Regions from separate parts of the Homo sapiens genome. Here regions 1, 2, 4, 5, 6 and 7 are each linked to region 3. Evidence: promoter capture Hi-C in 16 types of primary human blood cells and fetal thymus (Javierre and others, 2016). All regions are on one chromosome and are shown on one strand. The core of a region is centred on a gene start or on the middle of the fragment in contact, and the rest is flanking DNA. Distances in the headings are between cores, read along the strand shown.

Region 1 (3,057 bases), core at 482-2,981, 230 kb after region 3:
GAAGTTAATGGGGGGGTTGAAGTCCAAATCTTTCCTATGTGATCAAATTGTTGTTAGATGTTATTGAACTTGTTTTATTCTTGTCATTTATTTTCTCAAGTAAAACACTTAAAACATGATTTTGGCAAATGCAGCACTCACCAAAAAGTCTGTAGAAGACCTTACTTTTTTTAGTATTTCTAATCTAATTATGCATCCTTCTAATTCCAATATACTTCATATGAAAAATTATAGAATTGAATGATACAACCTTAATCTGTACAATTTTAGAACACAACTGCGTTTAGGAAACCAGGAGCTTTGATTCATGGGGCAAGTTATATATCACTTTGAAGGGAACATTATTTGTAATGTGTGAGATTTGCCATTTTTCCCTAGCACTTGATGCATTCTTTTATAGTTCTACTAAGATCTGATCATGCGGAAGGTATGTAAGTACATATTTAAATAAATTGGCATATTATCACCTGGCTTATGTGCTAGATAAGTTAGCATGCACACAAAAGCACTGTGTACTAGATGTACACTTGCATTAAATTGCCCAAGTTTTAAATTGCTATGTTTCAGTTTTAAAAACTGTGGTAGCAGAGAATTGGGTCACATAAACTCTTAAAGACTCTTCCAGTTGTTCAGTTTTTTGAAAATACTCCTTCTGGGGGTATTTTATTTGATCAGAACATCAATTGACTGTATGACACAGAATATACATAGGATTCCATAAAGGTATTGAGGTGAGAGCAACATACAGGTAGTGTTACAAAACACTGCATAGTTTTATTGTTGGGATAAAATAGCATAGGCCTATTTACTTTCTTTTTTTTGTTCATTTTGGCAATATTTGAACGTAATACTTTATTCTGTTAAATGCCCATAATTCTTCAACAAATATACCAGCTATTTTTGTTTTCTCCTGTTATCCTGTAGTAATTATCCATATCTCTACATAGCTGATATATAACTGAATTCTCACTGTAGAACTGATTTTATAATTTCTTAAAAAGAGATTGGTTGTATTTAATATACCAGCATATTGTTTTTTGTACCAGCATAAATTGGTTGTACTTACTATGCCAGTATATATTTTTTGTGTCACTATATGCAATCTCCGTATTTCTAATTTTGAAATTCTGTAATGTTCTATAGAGTTGCTGTGAAAATATGCTTAACACTGTTTCTCTCAATGCAAGATCCTATTACTTAAAAGACTTGTCTCTTGGTATGTCCAAGATGACATAAGTAGCTCTACTTTTCATTAAAGGTTACGCAATGTTTTCATGATTAAAAATGTCACTTGGCCTATATCTGTTTGTCATGGCTAGTTAACAAGTAGTACACTCAATCAGCTAGTTATTTCCTCTATGAGTCACTCTATGTGCTTGGCTTTTTATTTTTATTCTGGATTGACCACTGTCCCCACTTACACACCAATGATTGTTTAAGGAAGTTTACTGTGCGTTAATCTAGAAGAACACTGTCTAGAATTTTCTGCAGTGCTGGAAATGTTCTCTATCTGCACTGTCTAATAAACCATGAACCATATGTAGTTATTGTACATTGAAATGTGGCTAGTGTGACTAAGGAACTAAATGCTTAATTTTAATTAATATAAATTTAAATAGGCACAGATGACTAGAGGCTACAGCATTGTACAGCAGAGAGTTAGAAGACTTATGTTTGTCTTTGACCATCTTTTCTTACTCTGAGTTCAGCATATGTGATCAGACAATGGAAAAATAAATGTTAAATTGACTTGGTAGGATATTTCAAAGTGGGAATACTCCATGTAGACATTAGATATATATTTGAATATAGGTGTAAGCTCAATTATATTTTTTCTTTCACCTAAACTAACACATTATAATTTCAAATAAAATTGTTTATTGTGATAAATATATATAACATAAAATTGAACATTTTTACCTTTGTTTTTTTTTTTTTTTTGAGACAGAGTCTCGCTCTTTCACCCAGGCTGGAGTGCAGTTGCGCAAGCTCAGCTCATTACAACCTCCGCCTCCTGGGTTCAAGTGATTCTCCTGCCTCAGCCTCCTGAGTAGCTGGAATTACAGGTGCCTGCCACCACGCCTGGCTAATTTTTGTATTTTTAGTAGAGATGGGGTCTCACCATGTTGCCCAGGCTGGTCTCAAACTCCTGAACTCAAGTGATCCGCCTCCCTTGGCCTCCCAAAGTGCTGGGATTACAGACCTGAGCCACTGCCCCTGGCCATTTTTACCATTTTTGAGTTTACAGTTCAGTGGCATCAAGAACATTGACATTCTTGTACAGCCATCACCACCATCCATCTCTAGAAATGTTTCATCTTCCCAAACTGAAACTCTCTAAGCATTAAACAATAACTCCTCATTCCTTCCTCCCCAGTCCCTGTACAATTACAATGCTACTTTTTATCTCTATAAATTTGACTACCCTGAATACCTCATAGAAGTGGAATGCTGCAACATTTGTCTTTTTATGTCTAGCTTATTTTACTTAGCGTAATATCTTCAAGATTTGTCCATGCTATAGAATGTATCACAATTTCCTTTCTCTTTAGGCTGAGTAATATTCCATTGTGTATATATATATACCACATTTTGTTTATCCATTTATATATCAATGGGCATTTTGGGTTGTTTCCATCTTTTGGCTATTATGAACAATGTGGCCAAGAGTATGGATGTACACCATCTGTTCAAATGCCTGCTTTCAATTCTTTTGGATATACACCCAGAAATGGAATTTCTGGATTATGTGATAATTCCAAGTTTAACTTTTTGAAGAAGCATCATAACAAATAAGTGTTTTTTTTTTTTTTTTTTTTTTTTTTTTTTGAGACAGAGTCTCACATTGTTGCCAGGCTGGAGTGCAATGGTGTAATCTTGGCTCACTGCAACCTCCGCCTCCCAGGTTCAAGTGATTTTCCTGCCTCAGTCTCCTGGATAGCTGGGATTACAGGCATGCACCACCATGCCCGGCTAATTTTTGTATTTTTAGTAGAGACGGGTTTTACCATATTAGCCAGGCTGGTCTCGAACTCCTGACCTCATGATCTGCCAGCC
Region 2 (2,906 bases), core at 111-2,610, 160 kb after region 3:
GTTAAGTAAATAGAATGCAATTAAGTCCTAAGAGATACTAAATATTATTTTAAAAATAAATGACTATGCAGTAATATTATATGAACTCATATATAATTTAATATTTAACCCTTAAAAAGTTTTAAATTACATATGCATGTTAAATAATAATATACAGTAGAGGTGATCATAGAATAGTTTTGTGGCTTGTGAGATTTGTAAAACATGAGACCTTTGACTTCCCTTTACTACCTCAGAAATCCCAGAGGTCTGCAATCTGAAGATAAATTAGGTTTCTTCTTTCCCTAGCAGCACATCTTCTACCATGTTAATACATTCCATGGATGCTGATATCATCAACATTAGGCCCGTTTATAAGAAAATGCTTAGCTACAGTTAATAGAACATAATTGATGGCAATGTATTTCTTAATGTATTTATTTTTTAAAAAACTTAAACTTCGATGATTTAGTAATTTTATTTTCTTAGTAAAAAAAATCTGCATCCGGTTCTCAGACACCATTTTAATAATTTAGAGTTTTAAAAAATGCTGAAAGAAAGTAAAATTAAAATCTTATCCTTATTCATGCATTTGCACATTTTCAACTTAAGTGCTCATTCCTTTCTCCTTCCTATCTTCCCTCCTTCCTTCTGTTTTTTGCCAGCCTCTCTTCTTTTTCATCAGTGAGCTCAAGCTTTCTCAAATATGTCTGTTTATCCTTGCTTTTTATACGTAACTTATAGATAACTTGCGATTTGTTAATTTAGCCACATCTCTTTAGCCCTTTTCTTCAAGTATCAGTAGGTTAAATGATGAAACTTTGTGCTAATTAAGTATTGAAGTTTGTACTCGTGTCTACAATGAACTACATTTTGCTCATTGATAAAAATTACTTGAAACCCTGAATATTTTTCTTCTCATGCTATTTACATACTATACAGGAAAATTAAAAACCTATTAAGGCATTTGGAAAATATTCATGTCTTCCAGAATTATAAAAATGCATGCATATGTCAAGTGTGATTTGTTTTTTGACTGGTGATCTTATCATATTTTTTGTTCAACTAGAAAATGTAGACTGTTCATTAATGCGTTCTTAGATACTGAGATAAGTGGTTCTTCTCCCATACTAAATATATGTCTACCACTTATTCCAGAAATTTTATTTGCATCTTCTCTTACGGCAGTTACAGCTCACTTTTTGTTTGCATTATTATTGCCCATTATTTCTTTCCAAATTATAATTTATTTGGAGATAAGGGTCTAGAACAGCAAAAGGCCCAATGGAGATGTCCATTTCAAACATGGAAGTGAAAAATGTGTTGAAAGCAAGAAAGAACCATAAATTATTGGGGATATTTATCATAATATGAAGCATGTTAAACCCTACTGTCATTGCTAATAAAAAAAATAATATATTTGTTTTGAATGTCATAGTTATTTGGCAGGAAGTATTAAGTCTCAAATATTTTTGTGGGCATATATATTTTTGAAAGTAAGTTTTGTTAAGTATTCTTAGAGTTATGTTAAATGCTTTTATAAATGGGCATAATTCAGTGAATGACCTATTGGCTTTAGGATTTAGGCAAGTTGAGTCTGTAATTTGGGATTTTTATCATGAATCCTACTAATGATAATAATATCTTATGTATATATAGAATTCCGCATTATCCCATATGAGCCTCACAGCAAACCCTGTGATTTTGAAATGGCAATTGAGGTGAGTAAGGGTCACAGAAATTAAATTAATTTGAGTACATGTGACAGTAAGTTGAGTAGACAAGACTTAAACCCAATTATTTTTTCTACTATATCAGATTGAAATAGATTATCATTTATCTATTGATTTGTAATCCATGATTTTTCTTTATTGTAATGCATTTGAAATAACAGTTTTATAATATCTAAAAACCACATAATATTTATGGGGTTGGTCTGGAAGGATTATAGATTATTTTTTCTTTTCCAATTTTGAAAATGATTGTTTTTCTTTTACTGTAGGAAAAAACAGCATTTTATCTACCAAATTAGGACAAACTAAATTTAAATATCAACTTGAAAGCTTTCAGATATGCAGTTGATTTAAAATAACTATTATAAATGCAATTCAATGTTCTTGATCTCTAGTGAATTTTTTAAAAGTTTTATTATGGGCTAACAAAATAAATCTTGAAAATTAAAATGTATCAAAACATGCACATTATATTTTTATAATATATTGTTAATCAGCTCTTTTTTGTTAATTAAGAAAGCTTATTTTCAATTTTTTAAATCATTTTTTCAGTGGTGAAAAGCTAAAATTTTGCTTTCACATTTTTTTACCATCAGTGTCCCTAAGCAGTGCACCTTAAATTAGTTAACTTCTAATTTATCATGCTTCTATTTGAGTTGTCAATATTTCATATTTAGGAAAAATGAAATAAATATTTAATTTTAACTAAAAAGGAGCTTCTTCATTTTTATTTCTATTTTGATTATCTTGTTTCTTTTTGGTTGATAGATTAGTAGTTGGTATGTTTGCCCCAATATATTGAAGTGGTGGGTTTAGTTCAGTGCATAGAATTGGTGACTATTAAAAGGAGAATCATACAGCCTGGCTGCAAAGGTTGTTCATATCAGTGGAAATTATACCTTAATAAAGAAAACTAAAGCATATGTGTGGTCACAACCAATCCTTGTCATTATGCCATGAAAGCCTTGGGATTTGTGATCAAAGCAATGAGCTTATCCTGAACTGTGGTGTAACCTCTGGTTGAACCTTTCAAATTTTTATCTTAGGAGATGATACACTAAATGTTGGCCATGTTACCTGCCTCTAAGACCCATCTACCTAATTAAGTGATAGAGATTAAAATTATTTTGAGCAAGCCAGAAGAAAACGTGAATTGTAAATGTATCTGTCTTCTGTCAGTGTTGTTTACTTATC
Region 3 (3,168 bases), core at 297-2,796:
TCTGCTTGCCGGTCAGCGAGTAGCACTCCTTCGAGAGCAAGTTGAACCCTTCGGCCTTGACCTCGGCCACCCGATTGGGGCCGGGCCAAGGGATGTGGGGCATAGGCCACTGTGCCGCGCTGCGAGGCCAGATCCCGGTGCACTTGAACGCCGGAGTGATTTGCACCACATAGCGCTCCCTGATGCGCAACTTGACCTCGCTGGTGTCCGCGATCATCTTGACCACATCCCGATAGCTGCACTTGTCCACCGCCTGGGCCACCAGCGTCTGGAAACGCGAGCGGATCTTACGCGCTGAGAGATAGCCCGACGCCGTGATGAACTCGACCCAGAGAGACATGCTCCGCTTCCGCCCATCGCTCAGTTTGAGCACTGCGCAGCCGGGCAGCGAGCCGTCGTCCACGAAGTTGAAGACGCCCATCTGGTTTAGGTAGAGCACCACCTCAAATTCGGTGGGCGAAATGACCTCGAGCCCCTCGTAGCGGGCATCGATCTCGCTCAAGGAGCTGATGAAGCGAGGCTCCTGCACCTCCACTTCCTTGAGCACGTCCGAGACCACCTTACAGACCTCTCGGATGGTTTTGGCGATGGCCGCCTTGCGCGCCTGACAGCGCTCAGTGTAGTACTTATTGAGCTGGTAAACCAGCTTGGCCTGAGCGGCGATCATGTTGGGGCACAGGTCCGGGCTATACACCGGCGTCTCGCAATACGTTGAGGGATCCAAGGCTCACGCACTGGTGGTGGCCCAGCGGCTTTCGAAAGAGGCGGTGCGCTCCCCGTTAAGCCCTACTTTCACTCTCGTTTTCCACCTGGGCTGACCGGCTGATACCGTAGCCGGCTTGTTTTTTCCTTTTCCCTCTTTCGAAACCTCTTTTCTTCTGCAGAAGAATTAGGGGAGAAAAGGTGATTTTCTAAAAAGAAAAGTACCTCTTGGAACCTTTTTGCTTTCTCTTGATATGTAAAGATGACCGTGTGCGAGAGAAGCGGGGTGGGCGTGAGGAAGGAGAAGGAGAGGGAAAAAACTCAGGATACCAAAAGGTTAGGCTTAGATGTCTGCAGCCGAGATTGTCCAGAAATCTGGAAATGAGGTTTTTTAAGTGCCAAAGTAAATTTAAAAATAAAAGCGAAACATTCAGTGGTTCATTCTTAAACTTCTCTTCCACGCTGATAGGACTTCTTCGCTCAGTGTAGGTGAGTGCCTTCTTCCTCACCCTCCCCCAAATGGAAGGTGCAGGAGGTAATTAATGTCCAGAGAGCTGCGAAGTACAACTCAGTCCGCCGTGCACTTGGAGGTTTGCTGACGCCCCACAGTCTCAGCGTGTTGGTCTCGTCTCTTCTCGGGGGGTCGTGTTATCGCAGTTTTCCTCTTTTCCTACTGGAGGCGTTGTTTGGACTGGGTTTGTTTGTTTGTAGTGGGTTCTCCTTGTGTTTCTTTAGGTGCAAACCGCTGGAAGTTGTTTGATAATCATTTCTGCTTCGTAATTTATACTTTTGGCCCTCACAAAATCCGTTTTAGTGTGACGAAGTCGTTGCTTGCGTTGCATCTGGGGTGTAGTTATAACGATTCAGGGTTTTCCTTCTTCTCCTCTAGCTTGCTTTTACAGATTCCACTTTCTGAGTCGTCTCTCCCCCTCCTCTCCCCTCCGACCTCTTTCTCGCCCCGCTCTCCCCCTGCTTCTCTCCCCCGCCCCCCTTCCTCGTGCTCGCTCTCTCTTCTTTCCTCTAACTCTCTCTGTCTCTCTCTCTCCCTCTCTCTTTCTTTCTCTCTCTCCCTCGCTGTTTCCTGGAGTTATTTAGTTTATGAATGGTCCCAGGGCCATCATGAGGGGGTGGAGCTTCAGTTCCTACAATCGCTATCCGAGCTGTCAGTGCTTTAGCCAATCCGAGAGAGAAGACAGGCACGCTTGGCGAACGGTAGCAGCCACCACTGCACTTGATAAAGAAACAGGGTAAAGAGAGAAGTAAGAAAATAGGAGGAGATAATGGGAGTCAAATGCTTGCACACATTTTACAGCCGTTCCTCTTTATCCTCCTCTCTTATCAGTAGCAAAGAAGAAAAAGAGTTTATATAGAAGGGACTCTCCTGGAGATGGCTGGAATAACGCGAGGGAGAGTAGCAATGGTTCAGAAAGGTTCACTTTTTTTTTTTTTAAATGATTCTATCAACATTGTGTAGTAGAAGGTGCAAACTGTAACAAAATTACTTTGGCTTGAAGGCAAATGGGAAGCGAAAGGGGAATCTGGGAAAGGACCTAATTTTTCCAGGTTTTTTCCTCCTTTAAAGTCATCCTCCTTTCTCTTCCCCTCCCCTCCCATTGTTGCCAAGAATCAGAGCAGTTGCTGTATATGTGCACCAGTGAGGGTTGGAGTGGATATAAGGTGAGGGTTTATAAATCTCTTTTTAGTAATTTCGATATGCTGTTTAAAAACAGGGCAGGGCAAAAACTAGTCCAAGCACCTTGTTTGATAATTATTTCATAATTAAGATTCACATGTATTTAATACCATTATTTTATCGTTACAAGAATTAACTAGTTACGAGAGAGAAAATATCTAAGTTGTGAGAAATGGTGCAAACTTACATGTCGTAGAACTTAGTAGGATATACTTTTAAAATAAGCTACTAAAATTGCTTCAAACTTAATGAAAAACAAGGCAAGTAAATGTAAACCTAAAGTTTTCTTAAAATCTTACTGTTGTAAATCTAATTGTGAATGTATTCTTAGGGGGTACAGGTACAGAGTTTCATTTGTAAAATGATTTTATTTTCATAATTGACTCTTGCTTTTAAAAGACTTCACTGCCACAAAAATCTATAACTATCCTGTTATTGATTACACAGATGGCTTCACTCCTCCCTAGGCATTTCAATGAAAGGCATGCATGTGCTTTTAGTATATGTATTATCCTAAACGAGTTGTACCCACTGTAGCCTTTCCATACTTTTGGGTGAAAAAAAAAGCTAGAACATTGTTTCTGATTTGCTTGATACTGAGGGTTTATGTATGAACCTAAGATGTCTGGATTCTGAATCTTTTTAACGTATTTCAGGTAGATGTGATTATTTTTAGTTTGATTTGGGAGGTTATATTCCAGCCCTGGGTTATGCGATAAAAATAAAAATCTATGCGTCCATTTGGGTGAAGACTTCGTTTTAGAAACCTGGTA
Region 4 (3,288 bases), core at 565-3,064, 170 kb after region 3:
CTCAGTTTTCTGTAAGTAATGAAGATCTAAATGTAGGATTGGAAAACTGGCTAAGTGGATGGGCTTATGAACAGAAGATAATATCCTACATATTTTAGAAGGAAAACTCACCTAAATTTCATTAGTTTTTCAGAGAAGTAAATTATATTTTGTTCTGAACAGTTGGAATCAGGGTAAAACCAAAGCAGTCTTAATTATATCCCTGAGATTGGTCCCTGTTATCTACTATTACCTGAACTAGGAAAAAAATTTATTTCAGATACAGCATCAGAAATATAAATGAGAAAAAGGCTTTCATACTTTCAAATAATAGAAAAATTTATGAGTTCGGAATGCCCATCATCTGTCTCTTATGATATAATGTCAATGTTTGGACCTACATATTATACTGCCTCTTATAACCTTCAAGTTTCATGTTGAATAAGAGACAAAGAAAACCATACTCTGGGGAGAATCACTAAAAGTTGACCTTTAAAAATAGAGCATTTTGTTTTAGCCAAAAGATACATAATATACATAATTGATTCAAATTATAATAGTTCATTCATTTAACATGTATTTATTGGGTGCTTGCTTATGGACCAGCACTATTAGATTCGATGAATAAGAGACAATATCCCTATTTGGAGATTACCTTCTCTTTGATACCTTGTTGAAACAGAAAGCTTCTCAAGGCCTGGAGGTGGCATTAATATAGCAAAGGAAGCGTTCTCTTGTTGAATTGTCCTAAGGTTACCAGTTAAAATCACATTTACTTTTGTGTATGTTCTATAGCTTTTGTCTCCTCTACTATTTCATAATGGTGACACAAATAGTACTCACTTAACAAGGTAAAGAAAAATAAAATGAATATACTATCTGCTTTCCATTATCATCAGAGAATATGTGGACAAGTTAAAAGAGATGCTGTCCTTTCATAGTATTGCCTGACAGGAAAAAACAAGGTTGATAAAGAAATAAAATCTAAACTTGTTTCTATCATTGCTAAAATTTAAATCTATTCAACATAAACCTTTATAGATCTTACACCTCTGAATGAATTAGGTCAATCTTGTATAATTTTTTTCTCTGAATGGAAAATTTACACTTCTCAAGTGATGACAGCATAGAGACAGACTGTCATGCCCCCCACTGAACAAGAGTGGGGAAATGACATTCTTAAGACCACTGACCAGACAACATTTAAAAAAAAAAATTTTTGGAATTGAAATGCCAGAAGCTTTTTTCAAATTGTTTTTTTTGTTGTTATTGTTTCCTTTTCATTTCCCATATTGATAATGATGTGGCCAAGAATGTAAACAGCCGTGGTGGCTGCAGTTGGAAATAATTATTGTTAGCTGAGGGTATCTCCCTCTCATGTCTTCATCCTCTTTACTCCCAGTGCAGTGGTTGGATTTAAATTCCCTGGGAATGTAGGGAGATAGGTATGAAGAGTCTAAAATTACTATTGTTTGGTTTGCTTTTAGCCGTGATATGTAATTTACTGTGAAATTTTTAGTTAAAAAACGAGGACACCTAAATAAGAGGAAAAAAGATTTGCCATATTGATAGATTGTTAATTCTCCCCACATTTATTTATAAAGTCAATGTAAAAATATAAAAACCATTCAGTAGGTTTACTTTGTTTTGTTGGAAGATGATAAACTGATTTTAAAGAGCAAAGGACCATTATGGCCAAAATCCTTTTGGGGAACAAGAGCAGATTTCAGAGGGACTTGCTTTACTAGATATCAAAAATTATTATAAAGCTATAGTAATTAGGGAAGGAGAAGTAGTACAGGAAAAGTGAACAGAGAACCCAGAAATAGGCCAGGATATGTAAAGAAACCTCATCCATTATAGAGCTAGTATTGCAGAACTGTGGGGAAAGGAAGGACTTTTCAATTTAGGATTCTGAGATAAATAGTTATTTTATTAGTTTCCTAGGGCTTCTGTAACAAAGTATGATTATCTGGGTAGAAACAACAGAAATTTATTGTCTCACAGGTTTGGAGTCCAGAGGTCTGAAATCAAAGTTTAGCAGGGTTGATTTCTCCTAAATGCTGTACGGGAAGGACCTGTTCTAGCCCTCTGATTGGCTTATATGTGGCTGTCTTCTCCTTGTGTCTCTTCACATCATCCTCCCTCTATGCATGTCTGTCTGTCCAAATTTTTCCTTTTAATAAGGACACCATTCATATTAGATTAAGGACTCACCCTACTCCAGTATGGCCTATCCTAAATAAAGACTTCTGTAATGACCCAATTTTCATATAAGGCCACCTTCTGAGGTGCTGTTAGGTTGAGACTTTAACATAAAAATTTGGGGGGAGTGGCCACAATTCAACCTATAGCAGATATATGGGGAAAAAAATTTTAATTGGAACCTTATTTTATGCCACAAACAAAATGAAAGTATATTAAAGCTTTATATATAAAGGTAAAACTATAAACTTTAACAAGATAATACAGGAGAATTTCTATGTGATATTGGAATAGGGAAAGATTTTCAAGCAAGAAACAAAAAAGTGAAATATGATATATTATATAAATTGATTTTTGGTTGTTAAACCAGCCTTGCATTCACAAATATATTACACTTATATGTTTTAAGTTCTTTTGATATGTCCTGGATTTTTGTTTTGTTAGTATTTTCTTGAGGAATTACTACTTTTGAGGATTTTTGAATCTATATTTATGAGGAATATTAGTTTGCAGTTTTTTTGTGATATCCTCATCTGACTTTATTATCAGGGTAATACTAGTCTCATAGAATGAGACATGGCAGTGTTCCTTCTTCCTCTATATTTTTGAAGGACTTTGTGAATGCTACATATTATTTCTTCTTTAAATGTTTGGTGGAATTCACCACTGACGCTATTTAGGCATGGCCTTTTCTTTGTGAGAAGATTTTAAATTACCAAATCAGTTTTTTTAGTTTTTATAGGTCTATCAAGATTTTTTTTAAATTTTTTCTTGAATCTATGTCAGTAATTTATTTCTTTCTTGGAATTTGTCCATTTAACTAATTTATTTTTATAAAGTTGTTCATAGTATGACTTATTATCATTTTAATTTCTCTAAGGTTAGTAATGATATTACCTCATTTATACTGATTTTTGGTAATTGGTGTTATCTTTTTTTCTGGCTCAGTCTTGCTAAAAGGGTTTGTCAATTTTGTTGTCTTTTCAAAGAGCCAACTTTTTGTTTCACTGGTTTCCTCTATGGTGTCTCTGTGTTCTCTTTCGTTGAGTTTTCGCTCTAATATTCATTCTTTCTTTCCTTTTGCTTGCTTTGGGTTTAGTTTAC
Region 5 (3,040 bases), core at 115-2,614, 210 kb after region 3:
CCAATATCAATACATTATTATTAACTAAAGTCTTTGGTTTATATTAGGGTTCACTTTTATGTTAGACTTCCTGTAGGTTTTGACAAATGTATAGTACCATACAGAATAGTTTTACTGTCCTAAAAATTCCTTATGCTCCACCTATTCATTCCCCCTTCCTCCTCCACTCCTGGCAACCACTGATCTTTTTATAGTCCCCATAGTTTTGCCTTTTCCAATGTATCATATAGTTGGAATCATATAGTATGTAACCTTTTCAGATTGGCTTCTTTCATTTAGTAGCATGCATTTAAGATTCCTCTATGTCTTTGTGTGACTTGATAGCTCATTTCTTTTTATTTTGGAATAATATTCCATTGTATGGATGGACCATAGTTTGTTTATCCATTCACCTACTAAAATATATCTTGGTTGTTTCCAACTTTTGGCAATTGTGAATAAAACTTCTGTAAGCATTTATGTTAAGGATTTTGTGTGAGCATAAATTTTCCTCTCATTTGGGTAAGTACCAAAGAGTGCAACTGCTAGATCATATGGTAAGAGAATGTTTAGTTTTGTAAGAAACTGCCAAACTGTCTTCCACTCCACAAAACATTATTTCTTAATGTATTTTGGTAAGTTTTAAGATAGAGTTATCACAGTGGAGGCGTTGAGATAGAAGTATCATAGTTAAACTAGAAGAGGCTAGAAATTGAGCAGTCATGAAGAAAGCACTGGGAGCCCTAAGGCACGTGTACAAGGCTGTCAAAAAGATCAAGAACATGTCAGCATCATAATTTGTAGTATGATACTTGGAAGAAAAGTTCAAATGTAATAATGGAGGACTCTTTAAAAAATGCTGCCTCACTAATGCTCTTATAAAGGCATGGAGGACAGTACTATATGGAGAAACACAGAAATCAACACCTTTGAATCAGGAAGCATTTCAGAAGAGGTAGACTCTCAAACATTTTACAAATATTTCATTTATATTTTCTTTTTTATATACGTACAATACTTAGCAAAATCTGTCAAAAAGTTTGATAGTTCTTTCAATGAATCTAAAGTTAAAATTCTGCATAAGTAAGCATTTTGTTATAATTATTTTGCAGCTCTTATATTTCTTAGCAGTACCTGAAACAAAGGTGTTTGGTCTAAAAAAAAAAAGTATATTTTTTTAGGCATCATATGTTTGTATGTGTTCAGTGGGTCTCAGCCAAAGGTTGTTGAACCATTAGAGCCACCACAGCAATTTCTAAGCATTCTGAACATAGTACATTTACCTATAAAAAGGCAACCTGGGTTAAATTCAACCTTCTTGTGCTTTCAGCTAAATTATATCAGGTTAGCACCACTGGTTATCTCCTAATCAGAAGGTCTGGCAGATATATGCATCTTTGTGAGATTATTTTATAACATTTGATTATTTGATAACATTTTGCAAAACATGATGTCCATGGAGAAGAGAAAGAATGAGATAGTTAAAAGACATCAAGATTATATTAAGAGGACCACCTTAATATGTAATATTTTAATGACATCTTTTAAACAAATTTTACACCTAGTAATACTTACTTTTGGGCCTGAAATTGACTAAGTCTTCAAACATCTATTTATCTACTAGGAATATTGAGTCTTATAACCAGTGTTTAATTAATCTGACTCAAGGTTCATTTATTTTTAAAAAAGAAAGAAGGAAAATAGCTGTTTGGGAACTATCAGCTTCTGAGTCTCCAGTCTCTTATTCCCACAGTCCATACACCATCAGATATTTGAACACTCCAAACAGTTTAATCTGTTTTCAGGCTATGTGCCAGTGAAACCAAATATGGTACACAAAAAGACATCTATCCTGTTAACATGAGTGAGAGGAAGAGAACAATTAGATAATGCAGTAATGTCTTTAGATGTGTACAGAAGAAGCTCTTTTTAGAATATGTTTTTTAAATTACTTGACATCACCTTGTGTAAGTTAAACAGGATTTGGTTCTCAGTATTTTCTTCCTTTAGAGCTGTCTTTCCAAGAAGGATGATTAAGTGAAATATAAACATCCACATGAAAAGTGGACTGGTTTTCAAACATTTTAGTGATTTGTTTTTTTAAATAAACAACTGATCGTTGTTACCTTTAGTGAAGATACAGTATTCCTTAGATTGTTACATAATGAAAAGTAAATTTTAAATGTTTTTGTATATACATAGCCTGAAAATGCTTCAGTAATGTTCTAACTTAGATGCTGTTTAAATTTAACTTTTGTTAGACTGTTAGCCAGTACTCTGTATGTGCTGTCCAGAGTGATAATGTGATGCCATATGGTGGGTATAAAACAACCTTTCATTTTCTAAAAAATTGTAGTTTAATGGACAATTTTGCTTTATAGTATTTTTTTTTCCTTTTTAAGGAAGTATCTGAGTTTTTAAATCTTGTGTTAAAGTAGTACCACTGATGGGAACATTTTCTGGAGCTCAGATAATGAACAGTAGTTTTCTCCGAAGGTAAACTGTGAATTGGGGGTATTATGAAGTGAGCACTGAAATCTCGGAGGACTACAGCAGCATAGCATATTGTGAAAATCTGGAACCGGCACCTTGAGAGAATGAGGATTAACCCCCTTGAGTTATTAATGGCTGAGTTTGAAGGATACCTCACTGTCCCTGTGTTGCTTTCAATCCTTTTTTATAGCACATGGTGGCCTTTTAAAAATACAGTAATATACTATTTCTTAGTCTATGTCTTTTTAATATTACCATTTCTAAAGTTACAGAAAATATCCAGAGATAGAGTTTAGGGATTATATTGACAATCTTAAATGCGTTTATGTTGCCTTTTTAAGATGCCATTTATTATCAGTATAAGGAGAATATTCTTCATAGAAGAATATGAACGAATTAGCTAAAACATTCGGATAGACATTTATCCCTTTCTTCATGCTTTTTATTGGAATGCATTACTAAAAGTAGCTTAGGGTATAAGCAAATTACTTCATTTTGATTCTAGATGCTGAGCTCCTAATAGCTTTTAAATTTATACAGTTTTTGTTTAGCTGTCAAAACATTTAAT
Region 6 (3,190 bases), core at 514-3,013, 250 kb after region 3:
TATATTATCTCATTTAATCCTCACAACTCAATAAAATATTGACAGTTATTATCACAATTTTTAGAAGAGGAAATTAAGGCACAGAAGGTTAAGTACCTTGCCCAGAATCACTGAGCTAATATGTGATAGTGGTAAGATTTGAACTGAGGCTGTCTGATTCCAGTGTCTGCATACTTAATCCTATGCTGTGGTGCTACCCAGGGTAAGGATTTGGAACGGAAGGCTTTGAGTCACATAATCAAATTTGCAACTTAAGGATTGAACATCTCCTTGCAAGTCTGAGTATATTCAGCCCCTTAGAAGAAATATGAAGGCTGCCAGCTAATGCTTATATTTTTGGTCATTGTAAGATACTTTTATTCTCAGTATAGTCTTGCATTAGAAGTTAAAAAAAATAAATTGTTTAAAGGCAGAAGCACTCTGTTAATTTTCAATGAATCTATCTAGGACATTGTCTAGATTGACCCGACTTTAAGATAACCTAAAGCCAAAATGTCTTAATAATTATTGAAGGTGGCTAATGGATATGTGGGGATTCATTATCCTATTCCATAACAAAAAATGTTACATAACTGAATGTCTAAAAAGTGATCACCTAGCACCAAAACTCTCTAGGTGAAGGAGAGTTCATTAAGAGCAGTTGAGGCATTTGGTAATGTCTGTTAAGCTACCCTATTACCAACCCACCTTGCTGAACCGTACAGGGTTTAAGGATGCTTGTATGTTTCCTGTTATTTCACACCTCATTTATGCCTTTAAATTTTTTATTGCTCTATATAGAGGGCTGAATAGGCAAGTGAAGATAAGGCAAGAAACATAATCACTTGAGGGACTTTTTCAAATCATACATATTACCCCAGGATTTCTCACTTGACCTTAAGAATTACTACTATAGTGAGACAATGGAGTGTTGTCCTATCCTCCAGTATGCTGGATCTGAAGAAATGAGAATTACTGCCTTTAGTGACATCTTTCAGAGCTTCCCTGAGAGACTCATTTGGTTTCTTTCTAATAGCAAATACCAGCCTTTACTTAACACTCCTTATCCTCCCCTGCAACCTCAGTCAGCCCTCATCAAGAAGTGTGCTCATCTCTCAAGCTTGGTTTTGTCCCCAGTCCAACCATAGATGAGCCATAAGGGTTCCTGGCTAGCTTGCTATATAACAGGCACTCAGTAAATTTTTTGTTGTCTAAATACTATGTGCAAGGTACTGTTCCACCTGTTGCACATATATGGTATTCAGACCCTTCTAGCAGGGGTCCCTGACCGCCGAGCCACAGCCTGTTAGGAACCAGGCTGCATAGCAGGAGGTGAGTGGTGGGCAAGCATTACTGCCTGAGCTCTACCCCTGTCACATCAGCCACAGCATTAGATTGTCATCGGAATGCAAACCCTATTGTGAACTGCACATGCGAGGGATCTCGGTTGCACGCTCCCTATGAGAATCTAATGCCTGGTCATCTCAGGTAAAACGGTTTCATCCCAAAACCATATCCACCCCTCCAAGCAGGTCCATGGAAAAACTGTCTTCCATGAAACCAGTCCCTGGTGCCAAAAAGTTTGGGGACCAGTGCCTTATAGTGTAGTTGTAGTGACAGACATAAATAACATTACAGGAAATTCTGAATCAAGTATATACTGTAATGAGCAGTATGAACAGGTGTAATATTATTTAACAAGATTAGGGAAACTTGGTAGAACTCAAACAGGGTTTTCTAGAGAGGAGTAGAACTTAGAAAACTGAAGATAAGAGTGACCATTCTAGGAGGGTCAGTGGCATGGTAGAAAATGTAAGGCAGAGATGGCTTATATTTGTAGAAGAAAACCAGCTTGACTGAAAAGGAACACTGGTATAAGGTAATAGATAGAATGAGAGAATAAAAGTTAGAGAGATAGGAAAACCTGCAATGCCTGGCATTAGCTTTTATCTTTTAATTACTGGAATCACTTGAAGACATTTGATCAGAGAAATATTGCATAAAGGCGAGTTTGGGAAAACTTAGTTCTGCAGGATATGCTGGAGGCAGAAACTGAATAGAGGGGGAAAACCAGCAAAGAGACTGTTATAATAATCGATACTTGAAATTATAAGGGGCCTAGATTCAGAAAGGAGTGATGAATGTGATAAACTTCGAAGTGATTGGGCTTAGTGACTTTATATGTGAAACAGGTAAAATTTTTAAAATGTAGACAAGATTCTGAGCTTTAAAAAATCAGAAGAATCTAATTCTTGACTGAGAAATGCTAAAATAAAAAATAGTATTTTAAGATTTTAGATGTGCTAAGACATACATGTGCTTACACACAAGATGGCCAGGGCAAACTTCATGGGAGTGGGCAATCCTCTGGTCATAGGACTGGAAACCTTTCAGATAGGGGCAGAGTTTGAGGCCCAGTAGAAAAAATTTCCAAGAAAGCAAGCTTAAGTTGAGTGAATCATAGTGCTAAAAGAGAACTCACAGTAATAAATTTATTTATGGATGACAAGTCAGCAAAAGACAGAGATTAAAGGAGTAGACTACAGAGCCAGTCTAAGCATTAAGCCATTGAAGCCACAGAAGGGAGAATCTCTGTAAATTGCTTCAGAGATTAAGATGAATGAAAAATGGCAAATGAATTTTAAAAACAAGGAGGAGAACTGGAATTATCAGTTGATGATATACAGTGTGACTATAAAGTTTTGAGATCATAGTCATTACCTTACAATCTTATTCTATAATTTTCACACTTGAAAAAGTCCTTTCTGTTGCATTTTTAATATCAAGAACTGAAAGGTTCGTTAAGAAGTAAAGCATTTGTGTCTGAGAATTCCACAGCCTTTTCAGATGCCTTCAAGACTTGGAAAGAAAATTGATTATTATTTAACCTGTGTGAGAGACTATAGCTTTTATTCTGTCATTGAGATAGAATAATCAGACCACTATATTACGTGATTTAAAAAAGCCTTTTCCTCAGAGTTTTCAGTAATGTGCCACTTGTATTAAAATGTTAAGATTAAAGTTAAGTTAGTTAAAAAGAGGAGATTGGTATTTTCAGAAGTTGTCTCATCCATAACCTTTCATCTCAAAACATTGTTAAGTGCAAAACACTATATGTAATATTAAGGCCAGTTATATTAAATTTGTATCTATAATAAAGATGTATATGCTACAATGTCATCATTCATAGCTTCTCTATCATAGTTGGCGT
Region 7 (3,112 bases), core at 4-2,503, 140 kb before region 3:
GTATGAAGAATTCATCAGCATTGGACTTATAAAGCCACTCATCTAAAAAGTGAAAAAGAAAAGTAGAAACTTCTTGGGTTTCTACTTCTATTGTTTGGAGAGGCTCCACAGTCCTGGTATCTATCATGTAACCAAATATGGCCATTGCACATTGCTCAAATGCTTCCTCCAGAGTATCTCCCCATGTGTGTAACTGGACATCTGCTGTATGATCCAAATACTCATAATTCCTATTAACTGGAGGATAGTTGGCCTTGATCGCCTTCTGTTCCTCAGTCAAATTGTAATCTCTAACATCTCCCTCTTTCTGTGCCATGACTGCCTTGCTTGACTTAATATTGTTGGGTAACACTTAAATTCCCTTAGAACTTTGCAGACATTGCTTTGTTATCTTCTGACTTTGAATGTTGCTTTCAGAGGACAGTCTGATATTTTCCCTTAATTTCTGATTTGCTTTTTGTGTCTTCTGCCTGTGATTTCTTTGTCCAAAAAATTCTTTAAGAGGAATATGGTTCAGTATTGAACATTATTTATCAAATTATCCTGGGACATAGTTTCTTGTTATAATCAGCAGATTCTGATTTTTCCTTCAGTTCTTAGAAAATTTTTTAGATTATACTTTGAAATACCACTTTCACTTTATTTTGTTTTTTCTTGCTTAGTAACACTTAATAATATGTTAGATATATGTTTGTCTTTCACATCTATTAGTTATTCCTTAGTTGCTTGACTTTCTTTGATCCTTAGCCTTATTTTTCCACCAGTAAGTACATTTTTAATGTTTTATTTTGTCCGGGATATTTATTTGTAATTTATTTATTATGTCTATAAAGCTTATGTTTTGTTCCTAATTTTGTTTATTTAGGACTTCAGCCTCTTTCCTTAGTCACTTTATTTTGAGTTTTATCTTATTTGCATTATGTTTTTGTTATGTTGTTCATTAGAAAAAATAATCATGAATAATTTTCTTTTACTCCTTGAGATACTTTTTCATCAGATGTTTTGTCTTTTCTATATTAACGTTTTATTTTAAATTTATGTATTAACTTATTTGTTGATTGATTGGTGCTATATGTTTGTATAACTACCATACTTTTTTGTTCCATTGTGTTCATTCTTAGAATGCTCTGTGCAGATATTCTGTTGGCTTAGACAACAGGATATCTTAGTGACTTATTTCCCTCTCCATTCTCTGTGTAAAGCTAATATTTCCCTCTCCTGAGCTACAGTTTGATTTTTGTAGAATATCCTATGGCCTATCATGAAGAGGAAGAGCTTATTTGAAATAGGTGAGGAGTCTTTCTTAGAAATCCTCATTTTTTTCTAAGATTTTGTTAAATATTTTCTACCAAGTTCATTCTATCTCATTAGACTATAGACAGTTCTCATGGGAAGATGTGCTTAGGCTTTGAATCATTTCCCTCAGTCATTTAAGAGAGTAGAGTCGAGTTTACTTCTGTTTTAGTGAATCAGCCGCATTTTTCAATTTCTTGCTTCACCAGTATTTGTTCTGTAAGTTTTTCTGGCATCTCCAGGTAGAAGAGGAAAGAGGTAACGTTACCTACTCAGTTTGTTTCTCTCTGTATTTGAAGGCGTTAAGAAAATTATCAGAATTTTGTCAACTTACCAATATTGCTTTGGGGGCATGGGGACATGATTAAGAACTAAGCTTTGTTGCTCCCTCAGTTCTAGAACCAGTTTGTTTTTGTTCCCCTTGGCAACCAATTTTTTAATGTTTGGTGATTTATGGTACATTCCTTACATTGTTTCATTATTTTTAAAAATTATTTTTTGTTATTTATTTATTTTTTGCTAATTTGTTTTTAGGAAATGAGGAAGGAAAAAATATGTAATTGCAATATCAGCCTACCATCCTAACCTGGAATCTATTTCTTAGTGTACTTTCTAATTAATTATGGAGATGCTTTCTTTGTTGTAACTATGGGTTAAGATTGCACTTTTTTTAAATTTGAAATTTAGTGATTGTGGTGGTGGGTAGTGTGTGTTCTTTTGTGTGTGAATGAGAGAGAATGATGGAGTAAACGTGGAATTGGTGTATGAATGAGAGAGAACGAGGAAGGTGGAAATGTGGAATTGAAAATTGAAGAAATGTTTCTAAAACTCTGTTGTGAAAGAGATTAAATTGATTTGATCTGAAAAGTATATATATTTTCAGTTTCGGTGAGGAATGATGGTGCCAACAGTAGCTAATATTTCATGAATCCTTATGCTATTTCAGTAGCTATTAGAGGTATATATAAGTAGCAACTAATTCTTACAACAAACCTCTGAGATAGTACTGATATTATCCCTCATTTTATAAGTTTGAAAATAGCATGAAGTAGAAATAACCTAGAGTTACAACTTGGATCCAGATCCAGGTAATCTGTTTCCCAATTACTAATCTATGAATTTGGTTCAAATTTTATTAGATTTCTAAAGACCGTGTGAATAGGATCTAATCCTCGAATACATTGCAGCTTTATTCTAAGCTATTTAATTTTATGTTTTGTCTAATATAGTTTTTCATTTTAATCATTGTGCTATGAGATTTGCAATATTGTGTAGTATTTTAAGGTGTTATAATAAAATTTCTAAATAAAACAAGAAATATTTCCAAATAAATATTGTTGTTACTTAAAATTTTAGCAGAGAAAATATATTTGTTCATCTCTTCTACATCAGAGTCAATTTTAAGAGAGCAAACGTATATTTTTTCTTATGTCTGCTAGTCTTTACCCTTTTTCAACAAACTTCAATTGGTTGAAGTATGCTCATGTTCTAACTGTATTGCTCTTAAACAATACTCTGCAGGATGAGGCATTTTTTTTTTGAGACAGCTTATATCTTAGAGGTTATCTGTATTCAGCCTTGAATTCAAGCTGTACATTCTTAAATAATATAACTGAATTTTATCTACTGCTAATTACCTTCTTCTGCAAAAAAAGATGTTGTCATCTATTTAATGTACGATTTGTGTGTAAAGTAGCTGACTTGTTTCATTTATTATCAGAGGATTGATGACAGTGTAGATCTGCAATGTGCATCTATTTAGTTCATTGCATGCTTATCATTGGAGTGGGATATCCTTGACATTTTATGCTTTTGGTTT

Evidence for each region. The method cuts DNA at HindIII sites, captures the fragments that hold promoters and counts their contacts. A CHiCAGO score of 5 or more calls a contact.
Region 1: a contact is called between a fragment that was not itself captured here and the fragment with the promoter of MAB21L2 in region 3, in 1 of 17 cell types (megakaryocytes). The highest score is 5.4, in megakaryocytes.
Region 2: a fragment that was not itself captured here is called in contact with the fragment with the promoter of MAB21L2 in region 3 in 1 of 17 cell types (megakaryocytes); the score reaches 5.3 in megakaryocytes.
Region 4: a fragment that was not itself captured here is called in contact with the fragment with the promoter of MAB21L2 in region 3 in 1 of 17 cell types (megakaryocytes); the score reaches 7.4 in megakaryocytes.
Region 5: a contact is called between a fragment that was not itself captured here and the fragment with the promoter of MAB21L2 in region 3, in 1 of 17 cell types (megakaryocytes). The highest score is 6.2, in megakaryocytes.
Region 6: a fragment that was not itself captured here is called in contact with the fragment with the promoter of MAB21L2 in region 3 in 3 of 17 cell types (megakaryocytes, endothelial precursors and M1 macrophages); the score reaches 9.8 in megakaryocytes.
Region 7: a contact is called between a fragment that was not itself captured here and the fragment with the promoter of MAB21L2 in region 3, in 1 of 17 cell types (megakaryocytes). The highest score is 5.1, in megakaryocytes.

What each region holds. Positions count from the first base shown.
Region 1 is chr4:150,346,530-150,349,586 of GRCh38, reverse strand. The region is part of intron 48 of LRBA (LPS responsive beige-like anchor protein); the gene reads left to right. Among named protein-coding and RNA genes, the nearest start is that of LRBA-AS1, 230 kb to the left of the region's middle. The HindIII fragment of the contact is 7,057 bases long and covers 1-3,057 here.
Region 2 is chr4:150,425,304-150,428,209 of GRCh38, reverse strand. All of the region lies in intron 46 of LRBA (LPS responsive beige-like anchor protein), which reads left to right. Among named protein-coding and RNA genes, the nearest start is that of LRBA-AS1, 150 kb to the left of the region's middle. The HindIII fragment of the contact is 1,368 bases long and covers 677-2,044 here.
Region 3 is chr4:150,580,529-150,583,696 of GRCh38, reverse strand. It overlaps MAB21L2 (mab-21 like 2), which reads right to left and starts at 1,546. Exons shown (of 1, transcript NM_006439.5): 1 at 1-1,546. The coding sequence starts at 667. All of the region lies in intron 40 of LRBA (LPS responsive beige-like anchor protein), which reads left to right. LRBA-AS1 (LRBA antisense RNA 1) reads right to left here. Exons shown (of 2, transcript NR_149035.1): 2 at 2,463-3,168. The HindIII fragment of the contact is 6,793 bases long and covers 1-3,168 here.
Region 4 is chr4:150,408,002-150,411,289 of GRCh38, reverse strand. All of the region lies in intron 47 of LRBA (LPS responsive beige-like anchor protein), which reads left to right. Among named protein-coding and RNA genes, the nearest start is that of LRBA-AS1, 170 kb to the left of the region's middle. The HindIII fragment of the contact is 1,186 bases long and covers 1,222-2,407 here.
Region 5 is chr4:150,367,652-150,370,691 of GRCh38, reverse strand. All of the region lies in intron 47 of LRBA (LPS responsive beige-like anchor protein), which reads left to right. Among named protein-coding and RNA genes, the nearest start is that of LRBA-AS1, 210 kb to the left of the region's middle. RefSeq lists an enhancer at 2,941-3,040. The HindIII fragment of the contact is 4,698 bases long and covers 1-3,040 here.
Region 6 is chr4:150,328,823-150,332,012 of GRCh38, reverse strand. The region is part of intron 48 of LRBA (LPS responsive beige-like anchor protein); the gene reads left to right. Among named protein-coding and RNA genes, the nearest start is that of LRBA-AS1, 250 kb to the left of the region's middle. The HindIII fragment of the contact is 1,323 bases long and covers 1,102-2,424 here.
Region 7 is chr4:150,718,185-150,721,296 of GRCh38, reverse strand. The region is part of intron 36 of LRBA (LPS responsive beige-like anchor protein); the gene reads left to right. It also overlaps the pseudogene ZBTB8OSP1. Among named protein-coding and RNA genes, the nearest start is that of MAB21L2, 140 kb to the right of the region's middle. The HindIII fragment of the contact is 836 bases long and covers 836-1,671 here.